Linked DNA regions of Homo sapiens: region 2 is linked to region 1. Evidence: promoter capture Hi-C in 16 types of primary human blood cells and fetal thymus (Javierre and others, 2016). All regions are on one chromosome and are shown on one strand. Each heading gives the region's core, a stretch centred on a gene start or on the middle of the fragment in contact. The rest is flanking DNA. Distances are from core to core; before and after follow the strand shown. Region 1 holds the start of C1QTNF2 (C1q and TNF related 2). Region 2 overlaps CCNJL (cyclin J like).

Region 1 (5,038 bases), core at 1,132-3,631:
AATAAATGTTTATAGACTGTGGCCGGGTGCAATGGCTCACGCCTGTAATCCCAGCACTTTGGGAGGCCGAGGCAGTTGGATGACATGAGGCCAGGATTTCAAAACCAGCCTGAGCAAAATAGTGAAGCCCCATCTCTACTAAAAGTACAAAAATTAGCCTAGTGTGGTGTTGCGCGCCTGTGGTCCCAGCTACTTGGCAGGCTGAGACGGGAGAATCGTTTGAACCCGGGAGGTGGAGATTGCAGTGAGCTGAGATTGTGCCACTGCACTCCAGCCTAGGCAACAGAGCAAGACTCCATCTTAAACAAACAAACAAACAAATGTTCGTAGACTGAATTCAAGCAGAGAGTAAAGACAGAGAGAGGCTAGGGAGAGGAAGTTCTAAGCCCCATTCTAGCTTGACACAGTTCCTGCAGCTCGTGGAACTGCCACCGGACAAGTATTTTGGATTGCATGCTACATGAAGCCATCACCACTGCAAGGAACCATAGGACAGGGACCCAGGAACTCTGCTAGGCTTCAGGAAACCTAGGTTCCAGGTATCCTTCAAAAGTTGGAAAAACATGTGCCCCCATTCATTCAATCAGTAGTGTTTATTAAATGTTTCACACTACCAGGTATAGCAGCACTGCCTTTCTTAACTTTTCATTAACCTTTTTTTTTTAACCAATGAGAGCATGCCAGTGATTTCAACCTCTGTCATGATGGAGCCACATGGATAACACACAGATATTACCACTCTACTCTAGGAGAGGGGCTTTCCTGAGCCCTTTAGATTCTGAATGGCCTCCAGGCATTCTAAGCAGTTTCCTCACCTTTCCAATTGCTGACACATCTGACCCAAGAGGCGGTGGATGGAAGTTTCCTTTCCAGCCATCTGTGTATCAACACCCTAAACTCCACTCCACATGTTATCATTCCTTCATTTTTTGAGCTCACACTTCCCCTACATTCAGACAAGTCTCAGTCATCTCTCAGGGTTCACCTGAAACATCAGTTTCCCAGGCCTTCCCCTGACTGCCCAGTTTATACTTTAAGCTTTTCTTTTCTATAACACTCATTTCACTTGTAACCACTTGTGTCATCCCCAGCTGGAGGACTCTAAGTTTCATGAGGGTAGGCATCAAGCCTATTTGTTTCCCTCTATGTCCCCAGCACCTTGCTTGGGGACTGACACACAATGGATGCTTATTAAATATTTGTTGAATGAATGTTTGTTAAGCCTACAAACTTTCTTTCTCAAATAGTATTTATGTGATATTAGTAATAATTCCCTACATAGTTCAATGGCTTACCAAACATCTTTATGAGTTAGTGTCCCAACTTTGGGGTAAAGGCAGTGCAGGTAATATTATTCTCCCATTTTTTTTAGAAAATAAAACACCATCTGTGAGATTATCTGACTTGATTAAGGTGGTGGATACAACATTAGAATTCAAATGCATATCTGTATTAAAATTCTGACTGTAAATTTTGTGTCACTTACCAGCTGTTAACCAGATGCTCTGGCTGTGCAGAGTGAAATATGGGTAGCTAGTGGAAGAGAGCAGTGGAAGGAACAGGGAGAAGCAAAAGCCAGGCCTTGGAGGATTTCCTTTCCTCCAGTGCCTGCTTGATTCCCAAATAGGATTGCTTTGCCTATCCTGGGAGCTGAGACCCTCCATAAGTCTCTCAATGACTTGAGGCTGGGCCAGAGTGAGTGAGACCAGTGAATCCTCACCTTCTGGGGAGAAGAGAAATGAGAGCTGGTACACAGGGGAACTCACCCACACTAGTGTGTATGTGCACACTCACATCCGGACAAAATCCACACCAAGGCATGCATAGAAATCAACACATAGAATGAGCCACTGCACAGTCATACACACATTTAAACATACACCCCACATACAGATGTCAAACCAACACACAGAATGAGCCCCTGCACAGTCACACACACATTTAAACATGCACCCCACATACAGATGTCTAGCCACTATCGTGTACATCCAACCACTGATGTGCCCTCCAGTTTTACACCAAGCTGCCATCTTGGACATGTGCATGCATGTGTACATACACCGAACAGCCCTGATGAAAATTTGGATAAACGCACGTACGCACACACACAACTAAACACATCCCTATGATTTATCATCACACTCAAGTACATGCACACCTTTGCAAACGCGTGGGAAACAATCACTCTGATCACTCTGGCGCACAAAACCTCCAAATACGCTAACAAGCTCTACAAACGCAGAGATGCATCGACACACCCGAGTTGTCATCAGCACTGCAAGTTTTTTCCAAACAGCTGCTAAAAAGAGAATGCTGCGCTGCGGGCCAGCCCACGTGACCGGGAGGAAGGCTCTCCCGCCCATGACGGGATGGGAAAACTATGCCTGGGGCCGACGCTCTGCCCGGCTGCTGCCGCTGAGGAAAGCCGGGACGCGGAGCCCCGCCGAGAGCTTCTTTGCTCCGGACGCCCCTGGACGTGGCGGGCAGCCGCGAGGGTGAGTGTCCCGCACCGCGGTCGGGCGGGGGCGGCAAGTGCGCGCGGGGAGGAGGAGGAGGAGGACTCGCACTGCTGCGGGCGGGGCGGGATGCGGAAGGTGGGAGAGCTGCCAGCGCGCCTTTATTGCGGGCTGGGCAGCTCCTGCATTCCTGCCTCTCGACTTCTACCTTCGTATTATAATACAAATTAACATGTTTTGAGTCCTTACTGTGTGCCAGGCTCTGTGCCCAGTGGTTTACCCGTTACAATAGTAACACCCGTAGCTCTGCCATTTATTGAGCGCCTACTTTGTGCCAAGTCCTGCTAGCACTTTACTTGTGCTCTTTCATTTTCATGACAACAGATTATCCCCGTCTACAAAAGAGGAACTGGGCTCAGAGACATTAATGACTTGGACAGGGTTGCACAGCTAGTAATTGATAAAAAAGGGACTTGAAGTCTGGTAAATCTGAGTCCAATACCCGAGCTAACAATCACAGTTAACATTTACTGAATGCATTATTTCACTTAACCTTCACATTTATTTAAATATATGATACAGACTGGCAAACTGAGCTCAAAAGGTATTGAACGGCAGGCAGAGATTTGTACTCAATGCCTCATGACTCTCTTCACTCTCCTTCCCCACCTAAACTACTTGTCTTAATATGCTTTGTCCTTATTTCTCCATCCCCACTGCTGCTGCCCCATTCTAGGACCTCGCTTTTCAGCTAAATAATTGCAGTGGGCCCTAATAGTCTCCCAGCCCAGGTCTCTCCTCTGACACCATGAGTCCCTTGCATTACCTCATTGTGATCCTCCTCTGCTCCTTGACCACAAAATTGCCCTGCTTGGAAGCCTGCAGAGGTCCCTTCCTTAGACTGGCCATCTCTCAGAGACCCTGTGTTTCCACCATGCTGAAGTAGCAGTAATAGAAAGACAATGTCTTACATAGGTCAATCCAAGGCTGGTGCTCAGTTAGCACTGTTAAAAATCTGTCCTCTCACATCCTTATTTTTGCCCTCCCTCTGCACCATTCTCTAATTTATTCTGTCATCTGGAGTAATTATATCAATTACTCCTGCTTTCAACTGCCCGATCCTCAAACTCTCCACACATTTCCAAGCATCACTACAGCCCTTCATTGTAACACATCAGATTCACTGCAGAATTTGTTTCCTCCCAAATGTCTGACTTCTCCCCATCTCCTAGCAGGGATACCACACTTACCAGTCTTCCAATCCTTAAACCTTAGGTTTACCTTTTGTTTTAAATGTTATAAAAGTAACGACGCTCATCACAAGAAATTCGAACAGTTCAAAAAGGTAGAAAGAGAAAAGTAAAAGCCCACACACCCCCTCCCAATTCTGAAAGGTAACCCCTTAACAAGATTGTGTCTTTTCGGAAAGTATTTCCCCAACCCTTCTGTACATATATATACTCTGTATTTGTGCTGTTTTTTTTTTTTTTAAACTCAAAGAGAAGCATACTTTACATTCCATGGTACAACTTGCTTTTTTCACTTAACAGTGTGTCTTCGCCATGTTTTCATATCTGCATATACAGGCTTACTTTGTTCTTCTAATGGGCATAGTGTGTCATTGTATGGATGAACTGAGATTATTTTTCACAAGGCTGGAGTCACGTTTGAAGCCACTCTGTCTCCATTGAATGTTCAGCAAGTTCTCCAAGGTGTCACTTTTTTCCTCTGCAAATCTCCCTATTCCTCCCCCCTGTCTCGCTATTCCTTCTCTTATGCTGACCCTGCTGATCAGACAGTCTCTCCTGCTGTCTCAATCACTGATGCTTCCTACTCCTAAATGTTCACTGTGGGGTAACAGAGTCTCTCTCCACACCCACAGCTTCACCCACTCCTTCTTCCTGGTCAAAGGCCTGCCAACCTTAATTTACCTCTGTGAGATGAACTCTTGCATAAATCAAACTTCTGTTAGTTATATTCCATTTTAGCTTCTCTTTTTTTTCTTTTTTCTTTTTTTTTGAGAAGGAGTCTCGCTCTGTTGCCCAGGCTGGAGTACAGTGGCACAATCTCGGCTCACTGCAATCTCCGCCTCCTGGGTTCAAGCAATTCTTCTGCCTCAGCCTCCCCAGTAGCTGGGACTACAGGCGCACACCACCTCACCCAGCTAATTTTTGTATTTTTAGTAGAGACGGGGTTTCACCATATTGGCCGGGCTGGTCTCAAACTCCTGATCTTGTGATCCGCCCGCCTCGGCCTCCCAAAGCGCTGGGATTACAGGCATGAGCCACCGCGCCCAGCCCATTCTAGCTTTTCTTTTGAAAGGAATTATGTGCCAAATATTTTTTCAAGCAAATAACCTTCCCCTGGATTTGTTCACTTCTGTTAAGTGGCTTACTCCTATAACACACATACACATGCGCATACACATCACTGCCCTGTTAGTAACTCCCCTGTTAGCTGAGGGGCCATGGTGGAGGAACATGAGCTCTGGGCCCTGAGCCAGCAGGCCTGAGTTCCACCCAAACATTGACCTAGGAAAAGTAATTTTTCCCTTTTCTGAGCTCTGTTTTCTCTTCTGCCAA
Region 2 (5,038 bases), core at 1-2,500, 120 kb after region 1:
ATTCTACAAATTCCAGCCTTCTGTGGTCGCTGCGGCCTGTGTTGGGGCCTCCAGGATTTGCCTGCAGCTTTCTCCCTACTGGACCAGAGACCTGCAGAGGATCTCAAGCTATTCCCTGGAGCACCTCAGCACGTGTATTGAAATCCTGCTGGTGTAAGTTTCTCCCCTGAATCCTGTGTTTCTGAAATAGTGAGGTTCCTCTTGCCTTGAGGCCTGCCTCAGGCCACGGGCAGTTTCCAGAGTCTGGAACTTGTGGTGGTTCTTCCAGCTACAGGGTCTCAGGGAAAGTGGGCCATGGTGACTCCTGGTAGAAGTGGGGTTTCGAGAACCAGTTCTTCCTATTTTGAATAGCTTCAGGTTTGCTTTTTATTTTATTTTATTTTTTTTTTGAGACAGAGTCTCGCTCTGTCACCCAGGCTGGAGTGCAATGGCACGATCTCGGCTCACTGCAACCTCCGCCTCCCGGGTTCAAGCGATTCTCCTGCCTCAGCCTCCTAAGTAGCTGAGATTACAGGTGCGCGCCACCACGCTTGGCTAATTTTTGTATTTTTAGTAGAGACGGGGTTTCACCATGTTGGTCAGGCTGGTCTTGAACTCCTGACCTCATGATCCACCCACCTCAGCTTCCCAAAGTGCTGGGATTACAGGTGTGAGCCACTGCGCCCGACCGGGTTTACATCTTTAAAGTCAGGCAGCAAGGGAGAAGCGGGCTGTTTGCACCTTTAAATGTCTAGGCTATTTGATCTAAGTCCCAGTGTAATCTTATAGATAATCGCATTGAAGGACTTCCATTATAAGCTACTTTTCTCAGACATGGTCACAAAGCTGACCTCTTAGCCAGTAAGCTCCCCTAAGCGCCACAGCCTCTGCAAGGGTCCCTGGGAATCTTGGGGAGGAAATGTTCAGTGTGTCAGAGAAGATACTTAAAGGCATCATGAGCCCAACACCCTGAAACTGACACTGGAGGTAAATGTGCCCCATAGTTACTGCAGGGAGCAAGGCAAACAGGACAGAGCCATTCCCAGTAGGCACACACTGTCCAGTTCCCCTTCCACCTGCCAGGCACTGCGTATCCTGGGTGCTGGCCTGACTGACTGGTGGGCTGTGTGGGCAAAGCGGAAGCCCTTAGACCCCTGAAGAGAGCCCTCCCCGATGTGGGAAGCTTTGCTGGCAGCTGTCTTTATCTCATTCCTCTGAAAAGTCAGTCCTACTCCGTAGGCCTTATTTTAAAATTTGTGTTTTTGAGAAGGTCCCCAAAGCCTGGTCTGAGTGTCGGTGCATGCCTTACATAAGCCTCTAATTGTTTTGTTTTCCCAAAAAGCTATATGGGAAGCTTTTTTTGAGATGGCAAAAATCTCTGTTCCAGCCCCCTTTTCAGATGAAAAATCCTAGGCCCCAGCGGTCAATTTGGTTGATATCAGCTAGCTAAGGAGTGACCCCGCTGGGGATGGAGCTGGCCCAGAATTGCCTGGAAAGCAGAGATTGGGCTCATTCAGGCCCCAGGAACACTCCAGTGCCAGGGGATGGGAAGGCATTGGTGAGCACAAGCAGGCGCCATCCTCCTGGAAGCCAGGTAACTAGAAGTTACCCTCTGGAGCAGGTTACTCTCTGGGGTATTGACTGTGGAGATAGGGCAGCATGGGGCTGTGGGGACAGCCAGCCTAGTCTGGAGGGGCCAGAAGAAATTTTCTGTAGGAAGCAGATCCAAGCTGAGAGCCAAGGCCTGAATCTAGTTTGTGAACAGCTGGAGCGGTGCCACACACAGTGAGCACAGCCAGGTAAGGCCTGGTGGACACAGGACACACGCATCTCTTCCAGTCCCACTTAGCAAGACAGGTAGAGACACACACAGGCATCTGGTGGCTTTTGGCCTCCAGTTCTCACCCAGGTCTTCTCGTTTCAGAGTGTATGACAACGTCCTCAAGGATGCCGTAGCCGTCAAGAGCCAGGCCTTGGCAATGGTGCCCGGCACACCCCCCACCCCCACTCAAGTGCTGTTCCAGCCACCAGCCTACCCGGCCCTCGGCCAGCCAGCGACCACCCTGGCACAGTTCCAGACCCCCGTGCAGGACCTATGCTTGGCCTATCGGGACTCCTTGCAGGCCCACCGTTCAGGGAGCCTGCTCTCGGGGAGTACAGGCTCATCCCTCCACACCCCGTACCAACCGCTGCAGCCCTTGGATATGTGTCCCGTGCCCGTCCCTGCATCCCTTAGCATGCATATGGCCATTGCAGCTGAGCCCAGGCACTGCCTCGCCACCACCTATGGAAGCAGCTACTTCAGTGGGAGCCACATGTTCCCCACCGGCTGCTTTGACAGATAGGCCACCTCCAGACCTCACGAGGAAGCCTTGGAGATGTGGGCAGAGGAAGAGGACACTGAAGAGGAGAGCTCAGCCAAGTGAGGCAGCAGGAGGCCATCCCTGAAGAGCCTTGGAACGTGGAGGGTCTGTGCTCCTTTTAAATAAAACTGACCCAGAGCAAAACATTCAATAACATACCTCACCCGAGAGCATTCCTCTGAGAAACGTCTGCCACGTGTGGCTAGGGTACAAAAGGATGGCTTGGTGGCCGTCCCCCCACACAGGGGCCCAGTGAATCGAGAAAGACTTGATAAGAGGCCAGGAGAGTGGGAACTGGACACAGACCACTGATCTCAAGCATGTCCAGTTTTTAGCATTAAAGACTTTTCTATTCTTTGCTGATGGCAGCTACACCGCTGAAAAAGGAGGGGCAGCCTGGCGTGTTCTCAGGACCCCCGGAGGATCCCATATTGGGTGCTTTTCTTTCCCTGGCTCTATGCAGAGGGGCCTGAGTTGGTGTGTATGCCTGAGTGTTTGCCTTGCGAGGCACAGTGGGTGGCTGTCTTGCCTTTGTTTTCGAACCTAAAACCATTTTCAGCCTTTTAGATATGTCATGTGCTGCTGCTTCCCGAAGTGGTCTTGCTTTCTGTTTCGTAAGATGTCTTGTTTACACACTGTATCAGGGATTTGGTGATACTTGAAAATTCCTTTGGAGAAAAAAACAAATTTAATTGCCACACTGCCTGTCCCACATGAGGGCTGTTAATTTGGAACCCAAGTTTGAACCCAACTTGTGATGGACCCGCAGGTAACCACAGAGCTTCCTTTTTGAAGGCATATGGTTGGAGAGAACCATTTTCCCAGCTCTCGGTTCCGGAAGATTCCACGTCTTGGAGGCTGTGTTCACCACTAGAACTTTAATAACTACCCAGGGAGGGAGAAGCTCGTTGAAAGGAAGACAAAGATTTAAACAGTTCCCACCTCTCTCCACCACATACTTACAGGGCATGAGTTTAACCCAGTCTAGGCTTTGAGTGTGGCTGATAGCGAAGGATAGCAATGTGGAAAATTTGCTTAGTCCCACCTGTATTTGGGGAGTGGGATGTACATGGGCGTTTGATACCACCATTGATAGGCAAGCGACTGGTTGGATCAAAAGCCAGTATTTAGGGATCTGCAGCGAGAGGGCCCTCAGGAAGACTCTTGTAACCATGTGCAATATGTTTTTATTCTGACTCGCAGCTTGTGCTCAGCATGTTCTTTGGTTTAGTTTGGGGTTGGGGGACACATTGTTCACCCAGCAGAACTGGGAGGTGCAAAGGACCGTGGAAGCAATTTTTGTTTTGTTTGAGGAATACCTGTCTTGGATTCCTTAGCCCCTTGCCAGTCCTGGAGACTGTGGCAGGGGCCGCCAGGAAGGCAGCTGTCTGCTGCTGAGTCAGATCGGAAGGTGGTGAATCTTTCCAGAGCAGCTGAAAATCTCAGCATGGAGACAGTAAGAAAAGAGACGGGGTGTGGATAAGACTCTGCCACCGTGTCACACTAGCATAGGAGGCTGCACGTTCATTTGTTGTTGTTTTTTTTTCCTTTGCCAACCTCCGTTCTATTTATGTGCAAGCAGTTTGGATTCAAGTTCTTGTATCTGTCTGTTCTGGGACCTGGGGATTGTGAGGGTTCCCTCACAGCCAGCACGACCCCCAGAAAGAGGCGTCCCACAATAAACACGTCACCTGCTCTTGATCTCTCACCTCTTGTCCTAGGCATCCCCTCTTGGGCCGGCCCCTCCTTCCCTCTCTCAAATCAGCCCTGGTGAGCATCTCCCTATGGTAGAGGGTGGAATATTGGGGGCAGCAGCAAGACCTCGGGAGCTGAGTCCTGCCCTCTGAGTAGGAGCTGGGCCTCCCTGGGCACACAGAGGCCAGCGGAGGGGTGTATAAGGCTTGACACCCCAGCTCCATCACCGTCTCAGGGTTTTTCCAAAGAAACCAGTAGGATATATATGGAGAGAGATTTATTTTAAGGAATTGGCTCATGTGATTGCAGAGGCTGTGGTCTAAAATTTGTGGGGCATGTCAGCAGGCTGGAAATTCAGGTAAGAGCTGATGTTGCAGTAGAGTTCAAAATCTGTAGGGCAGGCCCACAGGCTGGAAACTCAGGCATGATTTCTGTGTTAGCAGTCGTGAGGCAAAATTTATTCTCCAGGAAACCTCAATCTTTGCTCTTACGACCTTTTACCAGTTGGATGAGGCCCACCCACATTATGGAGGCTTTTCTTAAAGTCAACTGATTGTAAATGTTAATCACATCTAAAAATACCTTGACAGCAACATCTAGACTAGTACCTAGCCACACAACAGGCACTGTAGCCTAGCCAAGCTGCCACATAAACTTAATGATCACACCACTTACCAGCTGTTGGAAGGCAGTTGACCCAACCTCTCTCTGAGCCTCCATCTTGTCACCTGTTAAAATGGGAGTGATAACACCTTGCCTCATAGGGTTCTTAAGAGGATTAAATAACATAATGTACATCAAGGCCAGTACCTCCAAAAAAGGAGATAATTATTATATTTCTTCAAGCATAAGATCAGCTTTTTGTAAGATGCACTATTATTTTATGCACTAATAAGACTTTTTAGAAAACTAAATCATGAGGCAGTTTGCAAGATACCATTGATTATATGTTGCATTCTGATTTCAGAAGCGTTACATGTCAAAATATGTATATGTAGAAT

What was found. The method cuts DNA at HindIII sites, captures the fragments that hold promoters and counts their contacts. A CHiCAGO score of 5 or more calls a contact.
Region 2: a fragment that was not itself captured here is called in contact with the fragment with the promoter of C1QTNF2 in region 1 in 3 of 17 cell types (neutrophils, M1 macrophages and M2 macrophages); the score reaches 6.5 in neutrophils.

What each region holds. Positions count from the first base shown.
Region 1 is chr5:160,367,969-160,373,006 of GRCh38, reverse strand. C1QTNF2 (C1q and TNF related 2) reads left to right here and starts at 2,381. Exons shown (of 3, transcript NM_031908.6): 1 at 2,381-2,495. The HindIII fragment of the contact is 8,188 bases long and covers 1,041-5,038 here.
Region 2 is chr5:160,250,664-160,255,701 of GRCh38, reverse strand. It overlaps CCNJL (cyclin J like), which reads left to right. Exons shown (of 6, transcript NM_001308173.3): 5 at 1-153; 6 at 1,904-5,038. The coding sequence ends at 2,324. Among named protein-coding and RNA genes, the nearest start is that of FABP6, 24 kb to the right of the region's middle. The HindIII fragment of the contact is 171 bases long and covers 1,165-1,335 here.